Regions from separate parts of the Homo sapiens genome. Here region 2 is linked to region 1. The links are contacts of gene promoters, found by promoter capture Hi-C in human tissues and cell types (Jung and others, 2019). All regions are on one chromosome and are shown on one strand. The core of a region is centred on a gene start or on the middle of the fragment in contact, and the rest is flanking DNA. Distances in the headings are between cores, read along the strand shown. Region 1 holds the start of PSMC3 (proteasome 26S subunit, ATPase 3). Region 2 overlaps CELF1 (CUGBP Elav-like family member 1).

Region 1 (4,895 bases), core at 677-3,176:
AGTCTCAGTTAGTGTCCTCAGGGAAGGCTCCCTAGTCCTGTCCCACATCCGCTCCTCACCCTCCTCCAGTCTCTCATTGCTGAGCCACGCTCACCTGTCGTGTAGAGGTTTTGATCACAGCACACTTGCCCTTCCTCTGGGAGTCCAGGTCAATATTGGCACCATCCTCCTCTTGGTCATTAGGATCAACATCCAGGAGCTGGGAAGGAAAAAATACTCAGCTCCTTGAACTCCCCAAGGCCCAGTGCTTCCTAAGACAGTTCCTAATACCTGCAGGGCTGGCCATCCTTACCTCCCTCCTCCAATAGCCCTGAGCCCACCAAACGTGGGTGCCCCTGCTAAGCCCAGGGATTGATCTCTGTGTAGGTGCTGCTCCTCTGCACAGGGCTCATCTACCCCGGAGGAGACATAACCAACAGAAAAGGAGACACGTGAGACCTCCCAGGACTTTGCAGGCCCCGTCTTCCCCATGAAAGTGCCCCAGGAGGTGTAGCTCTGACATGCAGTTTGGCCTCAATACCTCCACCCACTCTTTCCCTAGTGGCCCCACCCCAGGCTGTCCCCATTCCCTGCTGACTCCCTCTCTTCCCCTCCACATACACACACACCTCGATGACGTTGGAGACAAGGTACGGCAGGGTCTTGTTCACTTTGATTTTCTCACTGTTCTCTTTTATCTTGTCCTTCATGGCTTGGAGCTCATGGGTGACTCTCAACACTTCACTCTTCATGATCTGAGATCAGGAGGGGAGGAGAAGCAAATATAAACCCTGGCACAGCTTATGCTAGAGCCCTGTAACTAGTGAGGTCCAGGGTGCCCAGGGGACCCTCCCGCATCCATTCATCCAGCTCTGAGGCTCTCTGAAGGCAGAGTCTGACTGTGTCCACATCCTGCAGAAGTCAAAAGAGGAGGCCAGTTTGGAAACCTCCTGGTGAAATAGTGGTAGTATTGGAATAAAAGCAGGCCTCCGAGAGAGGCAAACATAGGTTTTAGGTTCTGCCTCATAGTAAGAACTGGGTGCTTTATCGCAGTACAAACCTCTCTGGGCCTGTCTCCTCATCTGTAAAATAGGCATTTTACTAAAAGAAGGATTCTTGAGAGGATTATTCCCAGTTCTCACTGGGAAAGGCAATCTGATAACTTCTCATCTCAGCCCAGGCCTCCCACCACCCCCTACCTGTCTTCTTGTCCCTTTTAAGGCTTAGTTTTCTTTCCTCTCTTCCTGATATGAGGGGGAAGCCCGAGCCCCATGTCTCCCCCAGGGTGCCCGATTAGGAAGTACGAGAGGCGACTCGGATCGCCGGGGCCTGTCCTGTGGGGGCTCCATCGCCCGCACAGGAGCTGTGCGCCCACCTTGATCTCACTGTCCAGCAGCCGTGTGCGCTGGATGATCTCCTCCGTGGACATCTTGAGCACCTCCTCCCCAATTCCATCTTGCTGTAAAAAATTATTTGTTTATTTATATATTTACTTTTACTCAGGACAAGCATCCCTCGTTCTCCGAACCCACTCACAGCCTCAGTTTCCACGCCCATAAAACCAGGATGGAGTCAGGACCCCTGCCCACATCCCAAACAACCCCGTCCCCGGGATCGGGCCAGACCTTGACCCCCAGCCACCTCCTTCCCTCTTGTCAATGGCGTCTCCCTGCGGGCCCCGGTTCCCGGACCGCCAGCTCGCCCGGTGCCCACCTCGGCCTCATCCCACACGGTCGCCATCTTCTCCTGCCGAGTCACTGGACTCTCAATATTCGGCAGCAGATTCATTTCCTGGAGGAGCGGGCAGAAGATGGGACCAGGCGGGAGCCGCAACGGGAGATTAATACCGTCTTTCTTAAAGCCTTCTCTTGACCAGTGGAAAACCTCTCCCCACAAATCCCGACTCTTGACCCGACCAGCTCCGGCCGTGCTGCGGAGCAGCGAATCTGCCTCTCCGATTCCAAAGACCAACCCCTGGCCACAGGCCCCGCCCCCGCGGACCCCGAAACGTTCCCGCCCGCGTCCTATTTTTGCCGGGCGCGAGAGGTGGGGCCGCTATTGGCCGACACGCGCGTTGGGGGCGGGGCCTATGTGTAAAACCGGAAAGGGAGGGAGAAGGGTGGGATCCGCGAGGGCCTTTGGGAAATGTAGTCTTTAATCTGGCCCGTGACAGATGCTTGCGGAGGGGCGCGTTCAAACTCAGACCGTGACCCCGCTAGGAATAAGGGGATTTACACAATGACACTGCCTCCCAATTAATAAACGACATAGGCCAGCCGTGTGCAAAGGGCCAAAAAGGCATGCCACCTCAGTCCGCATTTTTACAATTATTTAAGTACAAGCTGGCCACCCGGAGTTACGGGAGGGAATCATTAACCAGCTTTAAAGAGAAATCGCTGCTGCTCCTAACGTCAGAGCAGGCTTCACGGAATTGTCCACGTGGGAAGAACTCAATTGACCATCAGCCTCTACGATTAAAAACATTATGACTCGGGCCGGGCGCGGTGGCTCACGCCTGTAATCCCAGCACTTTGGGAGGCCGAGGCGGGCGGATCACGAGGTCAGGAGATCGAGACCATCCTGGCTAACACGGTGAAACCCCGTCTCTACTAAATATACAAAAAATTAGCCGGGCGTGGTGGTGGGCGCCCGTAGTCCCAGCTACTCCGGGCTGAGCCAGGAGAATGGCATGAACCTCGGAGGCGGAGCTTGCAGTGAGCCGTGATCGCGCCACTGCACTCCAGCCTGGGCGACAGAGCGAGACTCCGTCTCAAAAAAAATTATGTCTCGTATCTGCAATTGTTTGTTTTCTCTGACCATGGTTAGTAATCTCAGTGAGCAGAGCGGGTCTCCGGATCATGGGAGACTCATTCGTTGTACCCTTGTCGGCTATTTTAAATGATCTCTCCTTATCCTTTGAGGTGAGCCCTGGAGCCCCTTTAAAGGGAACTTCATGTAAGCAACATAGCTTATATTTCAAGTCAAACCATCACAAACACTCTGTTAACCTGATGAAAATCTGTGCAATCGTTGCCTTTTTTTTGTTTGCTTGTTTGTTTTTTGTTTTTTGAGACGGAGTCTCGCTCTGTCGCCCAGGCTGGAATGCAGTGGCGCGGTCTCTCCCTACCGCAACCTCCGCCTCCCGGGTTCAATGGATTCTCCTGCCTCAGCCTCTCAAGTAGCTGGGATTACAGGCACCCACCACCACGCCCAACTAATTTTTGTATTTTTAGTAGAGACAAGGTTTCACCATGTTGACCAGGCTGGTCTCAAACTCCTGGGCGTAAGTGATCTTCCTGCCTCAGCCTCCTAAAGTGTTGGTACTATAGGCATGAACCACTACACCTAGCCTTTGCAGTAGTTTTTTTTGGAACACGGTTGAAAGCAGAATTTTTTTCTTTAAATAACAACATGTACAGCTGCTCACTCAGGCTGACAAAGCGTCTCCTCAAGTAACAGTGCTTTATTCCATTCTCTCAACAAGCCTGCCTTGTGGACAGACTGAATTACCATTCTCAAATTTAAATAAGCATAGGGAGGCTCAGAGAGGTTAAGTGCCTTGCTGGAGGTTATTCAGTGAGTCACTGGCAGCACTAGGACTGCTGACCCCAAATTCTCACTTTGAGTTGCCCGATAGGAGCCAAGAAGCCCAGAGGGGAAAGACTGTCCAATCTGTGCTGGTCCCACTATGCCTGGGTCAGTTGGGTCCCATTCTGGGGCCTACTTTTGGAGATCCTGACAAATACGAATATGTTTAGAAAGCCTCCAGCCTGGGCCTAGGAGGGATGCAGACATTCTCCCCTTAACCAACTTTTAGGTAGGCTCTTCTGAGCCATCTTTTTTTTTTTTTTTTTTTTTTTGAGACGGAGTTTCGCTCTGTCGCCCAGGCTGGAGTGCAGTGGCGGGATCTCGGCTCACTGCAAGCTCCGCCTCCCGGGTTCACGCCATTCTCCTGCCTCAGCCTCCCAAGTAGCTGGGACTACAGGCGCCCGCCACTACGCCCGGCTAATTTTTTGTATTTTTAGTAGAGACGGGGTTTCACCGTTTTAGCCGGGATGGCCTCGATCTCCTGACCTCGTGATCCGCCCGCCTCGGCCTCCCAAAGTGCTGGGACTACAGGCATGAGCCACCGCGCCCGGCCTGAGCCATCTTTTTTTGACTAGGCCTTGTGGGCTGTTCCTTCATCCCTGTCATCAACCTGTCTAACCCTGTTTTCACAAAAATCCTGCTAGTCAGTTTAACGGAATCCCCCCACCCCTGATACCTCATCCCTCTAGATATATGATCCAGGTCCTCATTTATCCTTCACCTTTGAAGTATAAGCCCTTGGCCTGCTTTTTTTTTTTTTTTTTTTTTTTTTGAGACGAAGTCTTGCTCTGTCGCCCAGGCTTGAGTTCAGTGGTGCGATCTTGGCTCACTGCAACCTCCGCCTCCTGTGTTCAAGCAATTCTCCTGTCTCAGCCTCCTGAGTAGCTGGGATTACAGACACCCACCACCAAGCCCAGCTAATTTTTGTATTTTAGTAGAGACGGGGTGTCACCATGTTGGCCAGGATGGTCTCGACCGCCTCATGATCCTCTCGCCTCCACCTCCCAAAGTGCTGGGATTAGAGGCGTGAGCCACTGCACCCGGCCCTGAACATCTCCTTCTTTAATCCTGGCTAGAATGACAGGGATTGATTATCTTGGGAGCCCAGGAGTAGGAATGTCTTGGGGAGATGGGAGAAAAAGGAGAATAGTTTATGAAGGTTCACTCTGCTCAAAAAGGTCAAGGAAGTACCAGGAGGTCAGTCCCAGCAAGGAGCTGGGAACCTGGAGCAGAGCATGTCTTCAGGGAGAAAGAGGTTGGCTGAATTAGGGACCTCTGGTCCATCTGGGCCTCTAGAGAGAAGAGGTCTAGGCCAGGCCTAGAACAGA
Region 2 (4,895 bases), core at 1,221-3,720, 110 kb after region 1:
GGCAGGAGAACTGCTTAAACTCCGGAAGGCGGAAGTGGCAGTGAGCTGAGATCGCACCACCGCACTCCAGCCTGGGCTACAGAGCGAGACTCCATTTCAAAAAATAAATAAATACATACATACATACATACATAAATTAGCTGAGCATGGTGGCGGGCACTTGCAATCCCAGCTACTTGGGAGGCTAAGGCAGAAGCATCACTTGAACCTAAGAGGCAGGGGTTACAGTGAGCTGAGATTGCTCAAGTGCACTCCAGCCTGGGCAATAGAGCGAGACTCTCCCCCAAAAAAAAAAAAAAAAAAAAAAGGAATATTTATAACTATTTTAGTGACACTCTGTTGCACAATAGTTAAATATATTCAACTCTTAGTTTTTCCCCTCCCTCTTCATAAAAGCAGCTACATCAATATAAACTCAACTGAAGTTTCTATGACCTATGTATGCTGCTATTTCTTTCCAGACCACAACATAAGTTATATTTAGCATTTTTTCTTTCCTTTTTTTTTTTTTTTTTTTTTTGGACATAGAGTTTCACTCTTGTTGCCCAGGCTGAAGTACAGTGACACAATCTCTGCTCACTGCAACCTCCGCCTCCTTAGTTCAAACTACTCTCCTGCCTCAGCCTCCGAAGTAGCTGAGATTACAGGCGCCTGCCACCATGCCCGGCTAATATTTTGTATTTCTAGTAGAGATGGGGTTTCACCACATTGGCCAGGCTGGTCTCGAACTCCTGACCTCAGGTGATCCACCCGCCTTGGCCTCCCAAAGTGCTGGGATTACAGGCATGAGCCACGGCGCCTGGCCATATTTAGTATTTTTTCTATCAAGATTTCAATGTTTTCCAAAGTTCAAGAAATCTCAGCTTCTCTACACAATTATGTTAGAAATATATCAGACACAAAATTATAAAAATAAAGCTGGCCGGGCGCCATGGCTCATGCCTGTAATCCCAGCACTCTGGGAGGCCAAGGCAGACAGATCACAAGGTAAGGAGACCGAGACCATCCTGGCTAACATGGTGAAACCCTGTCTCTACTAAAAACATACAAAAAATTAGCCGGGCGTGGTGGTGGGCAACTGTAGTCCCAGCTACTCGGGAGGCTGAGGCAGGAGAATGGTGTGAACCCAGGAGGTGGAGCTTGCAGTATGCAGAGATCGCACCACTGCACTCCAGCCTAGGCGACAGAGCGAGACTCCATCTCAAAAATAAATAAAATAAAATAAAATAAGCCAAGAGAAGTATAAGTTCAATCTCCAAGTATGCCTCCAAAACTGTAGTGTGTAGATAAATGTGATGTTAAATTACGTTTAGGGAGATGAACTGCCACTCCCAGCTAAATGTGTGTTGTCACTCAGTTCCCTGGAGACCCATTCTGTTAGAAGATATCTTAAGAAAACAGATCATTTACAAGTCTGATCTGTGGATCTGTTTTTTTCAGAAGTGGAACAGTCAGAATTAGAAAAAAAAAAATTTTTTTCCCTAAGTTGGAAGCTTTCTGGAAAAGGGTTAAGTCTTTCCATAGATCTAGCTTAGCCCCAGAGCAAACTTATACCAGACAAATGAACATTAACAAAAACAGCACTTGATTTCACAGTAATAATCTAGAACTTCAGCTACCCTACGCCTGATCCATAATAGTTTGAGCCAGAAAAGTACCTGGCACAAATTTCAAGAGTATCCCTCACACTAATAACTACTGAAACCTAAATATAAATTCCATTTAAATGTGTTGAAAACCAAACTCAGAACCAATTCATACAACAAATTCACAAACCAAAAGAAAAAAAAAATGGTTCTATGGAGATAAGATATACCATTAACTACCGTAGGCAATAGTTATTAAGATACTCCACAAACATATTATGTCTTGGGCTGGGCGAGATGGCTCACACCTGTAATCCCAGCACTTTGGGAGGCCGAGGCAGGCGGATCAGTTGAGTTCAGGAGTTCGAGACCAGCCTGACCAACATGGAGAAACTCCGTCTCTACTAAAAATAGAAAATTAGCCGGGCATGGTGGGGCATGCCTGTAATCCCAGCTACTCAGGAGGCTGAGGCAGGAGAATCGCTTGAACCCGGGGAGGTGGAGGTTGCAGTGAGCCAAGGTTGCACCACTGCACTCCAGCCTGGGCAACAAGAGCGAAACCCCATCTCAAAAAAAAAAAAAAAATAAATCATGTCTTGTTTTGCTATATTTACTCACCTAAGCTTTCCTGTAGCATGCCCACAAGTTTTTTTGTTTTTGTTTTTTTCTTGAGATAGGGTCTTGCTCTGTCGCCCAGGCTGAAGTGCAGTGGTGCAATCTCGGCTCACTGCAATCTCCACCTCCTGGGTTCAAGCGAGCCTCCTGCCTCAGCCTCCCAAGTAGCTGGGATTACAGGCGTGTGCCACCGTGCCCAGCTAATTTTTTCTGTTTTTAGTACAGACAGGGTTTCACTGTGTTAGCCAGGATGGTCTTGATCTCCTGACCTTGTGATCCGCCCGCCTCAGCCTCCCAAGGTGCTGGGATTATAGGCATGAGCCACTGCACCCAGCCCAAGAGTTTGTTTTTAAATAGTTTCTGGCCAGCATGGTGGCTCAAGCCTGCAATCCCAGCACTTTGGGAGGCTGAGGCAGGTGAATCACTTGAGGCCAAGAGTTTGAGACCAGCCTAGCCAACATGGCAAAATCTCATCTCTACTAAAAATAGAAAAATTAGCTGGGCATGGTGCCAACGGCCTGTAGTAGCTCTTCTGGAGACTGAGGCACGAGAATTACTTGAACCCGGGAGGCGGAGGTTGCAGTGAGCCAACATTGCACCACTGTACTCCATCGTGGGCGACAAGGCGAGATTGTCATAAATAAATAGATAGATAGATAGACAGACTGATAGATAGTTTCCCAATGCTATCTATAACCCAAATTAGCTCAGTAAAGAGGTTTGCAAAGCTTTTTAAAAAACTGCATTTGTAGGCCGGGTGTGGTGGCTCATGCCTGTAATCTCAGCACTTTGGGAGGCCAAGGTGAGCAGATTACCTGAGGTCAGGTGGAGTTGGAGGTCAGCCTAGCCAACATGGCGAAAACCCGTCACTACTAAAAAAAATACAAAAATTACCTGGGCGTGGTGGTGCACACCTGTAATCCCAGCTACTCAGAAGGCTGAGGCAGTTACTTGAACCTGGGAAGCGGGGGCTGCAGAGCTGAGAACACACCACTGCACTCCAGCCTGCGTGACAGAGTGAGACTCCATTTCAAAAAATAATAATAAAAAATAAAAATTGCACTTGTAAATGTATGCAGAGACTATTAAACAGAAATAGCACGCAATAAAAACAATGAATATATAATAAACATAATGTCTTTCCATAATTATTTCCCATCAGCTTGAAAGGGGAAGTAGGAAGGACAAGTCCACAGTATAGTTTTGGCACATGAGTTTAATATCAAACAGCCTAGAAACAAAAAGGAGAAAACAGGACATGACAGGAGGCAAACTCTTGGATGCTTTATTCATTTTTACTAGTGGTTTACTATTTCCTTGATTTTATTTGGAAAAGCATGTCTTGGCCCAGAAAGGCAAGAGTGCAGACTGCCAGCAATATCAGATTATCCTTTTCTTATTCTTTGGAGCTACTGAAAACTGAGCCAAAATCAGAGTTGTCTAGGAGCCTTCTGACTGTTCAGGCAATAAAAATTACGAAGTTTCAAGATCAGAGCTCCACAAGGTTTTTACCATACAAATTTTTTTTTTTTTTTTTTTTGGGACAGAGTCTCACTCTGTCGCCCAGGCTAGAGTGCAGTGGCGCCATCTTGGCTCACTGCAGCCTCCACCTCCTGGATTCAAGCAATTCTCCTGCCTCAGCCTCCTGAGTAGCTGAGACTATAGGCACACACCACCACATTCAACAAATTTCTGTTATTTTTAGTAGAGACGGGGTTTCACCATGTTGTCCAGGATGGTCTCGATCTCCTGACCTCGTGATCCACCCGACTCAGTCTCCCAATGTGCTGGGATTACAGGCGTGAGCCACCACACCAGGCCTACAGTACAAACCTTAACCATAATGTCTTTTGATGGAAAGCTGCTTACATTTTTTTTCCAGATAACTCCTTGGAGCTTTTAAAGTACTCCATCTTCAGAAGACAATGACTTAAATTCACAGAATTAAAATGTTAAGTCTTTTTCCTATTACTAATCCTTAATACTGAACTGTTCCAAAACATAAAATTAAAGTGCCATTTGACTAGACATGGAGTAGTCAACAAATAATTACCAGATATCTACTTTATGCAAGGCCCCAGTACTTATGTAACACTATAGACTGTAAAATTTCCTCTATGCACAGCACTGGGTTTAGTACGATACACACAACACATAAAGGCATAATCATTTTGTTTTCTTTTTTTTCTTTTCTTTTTTTTTTTTTAAAGAAAGGTGTTTCACTTTTTCACCCAGGCTGGCTGGAGTACATTGGCACAATGATAGCTTTCTGTAACCTCCTGGGCTCAAGGAGTTGAGTCCTGCCTCAGCCTCCCAAATAGCTAGGACTACAGGTGTGCACCACCATGCCTGGCTAAATAATTTTATTTGTAGAGACAGAGTCCCTGTATTTGCCCAAGCTGGTCTCAAACTCCTGGCCTCAAGCAATCCTCTTGCCTCAGCCTCCTAAAGTGCTGGTAATGCAGGCATGAGCTACCATGCCTGGCCCATAATATTGTTTAGATATATTTGCAATCATCATTTGATCTCTGATATCAAATAATATCTTCTAGCTTTTTCTATCCTACATTATCTATATATGGAAGACAGAATCTTGATGTTGGCTGTGTACCAGGTTGTATATAAATCTCCATTTTGGCTGGGCGTGGTGGCTCACGCCTCTAATCCCAGCACTTTGGGAGGCCCAGGCGGGCA

What was found. Contacts are between HindIII fragments. The study calls those that stand out against the background at their distance.
Region 2: a contact is called between a fragment that was not itself captured here and the fragment with the promoter of PSMC3 in region 1, in 3 of the 25 tissues and cell types used here (dorsolateral prefrontal cortex, liver and thymus).

The regions. Positions count from the first base shown.
Region 1 is chr11:47,424,513-47,429,407 of GRCh38, forward strand. It overlaps PSMC3 (proteasome 26S subunit, ATPase 3), which reads right to left and starts at 1,927. Exons shown (of 12, transcript NM_002804.5): 1 at 1,693-1,927; 2 at 1,355-1,438; 3 at 609-734; 4 at 95-199. The coding sequence starts at 1,767. RefSeq lists silencers at 1,554-1,765, 2,036-2,165 and an enhancer at 1,736-1,935. The HindIII fragment of the contact is 16,812 bases long and covers 1-4,895 here.
Region 2 is chr11:47,533,525-47,538,419 of GRCh38, forward strand. All of the region lies in intron 1 of CELF1 (CUGBP Elav-like family member 1), which reads right to left. Among named protein-coding and RNA genes, the nearest start is that of CELF1, 17 kb to the right of the region's middle. The HindIII fragment of the contact is 4,129 bases long and covers 407-4,535 here.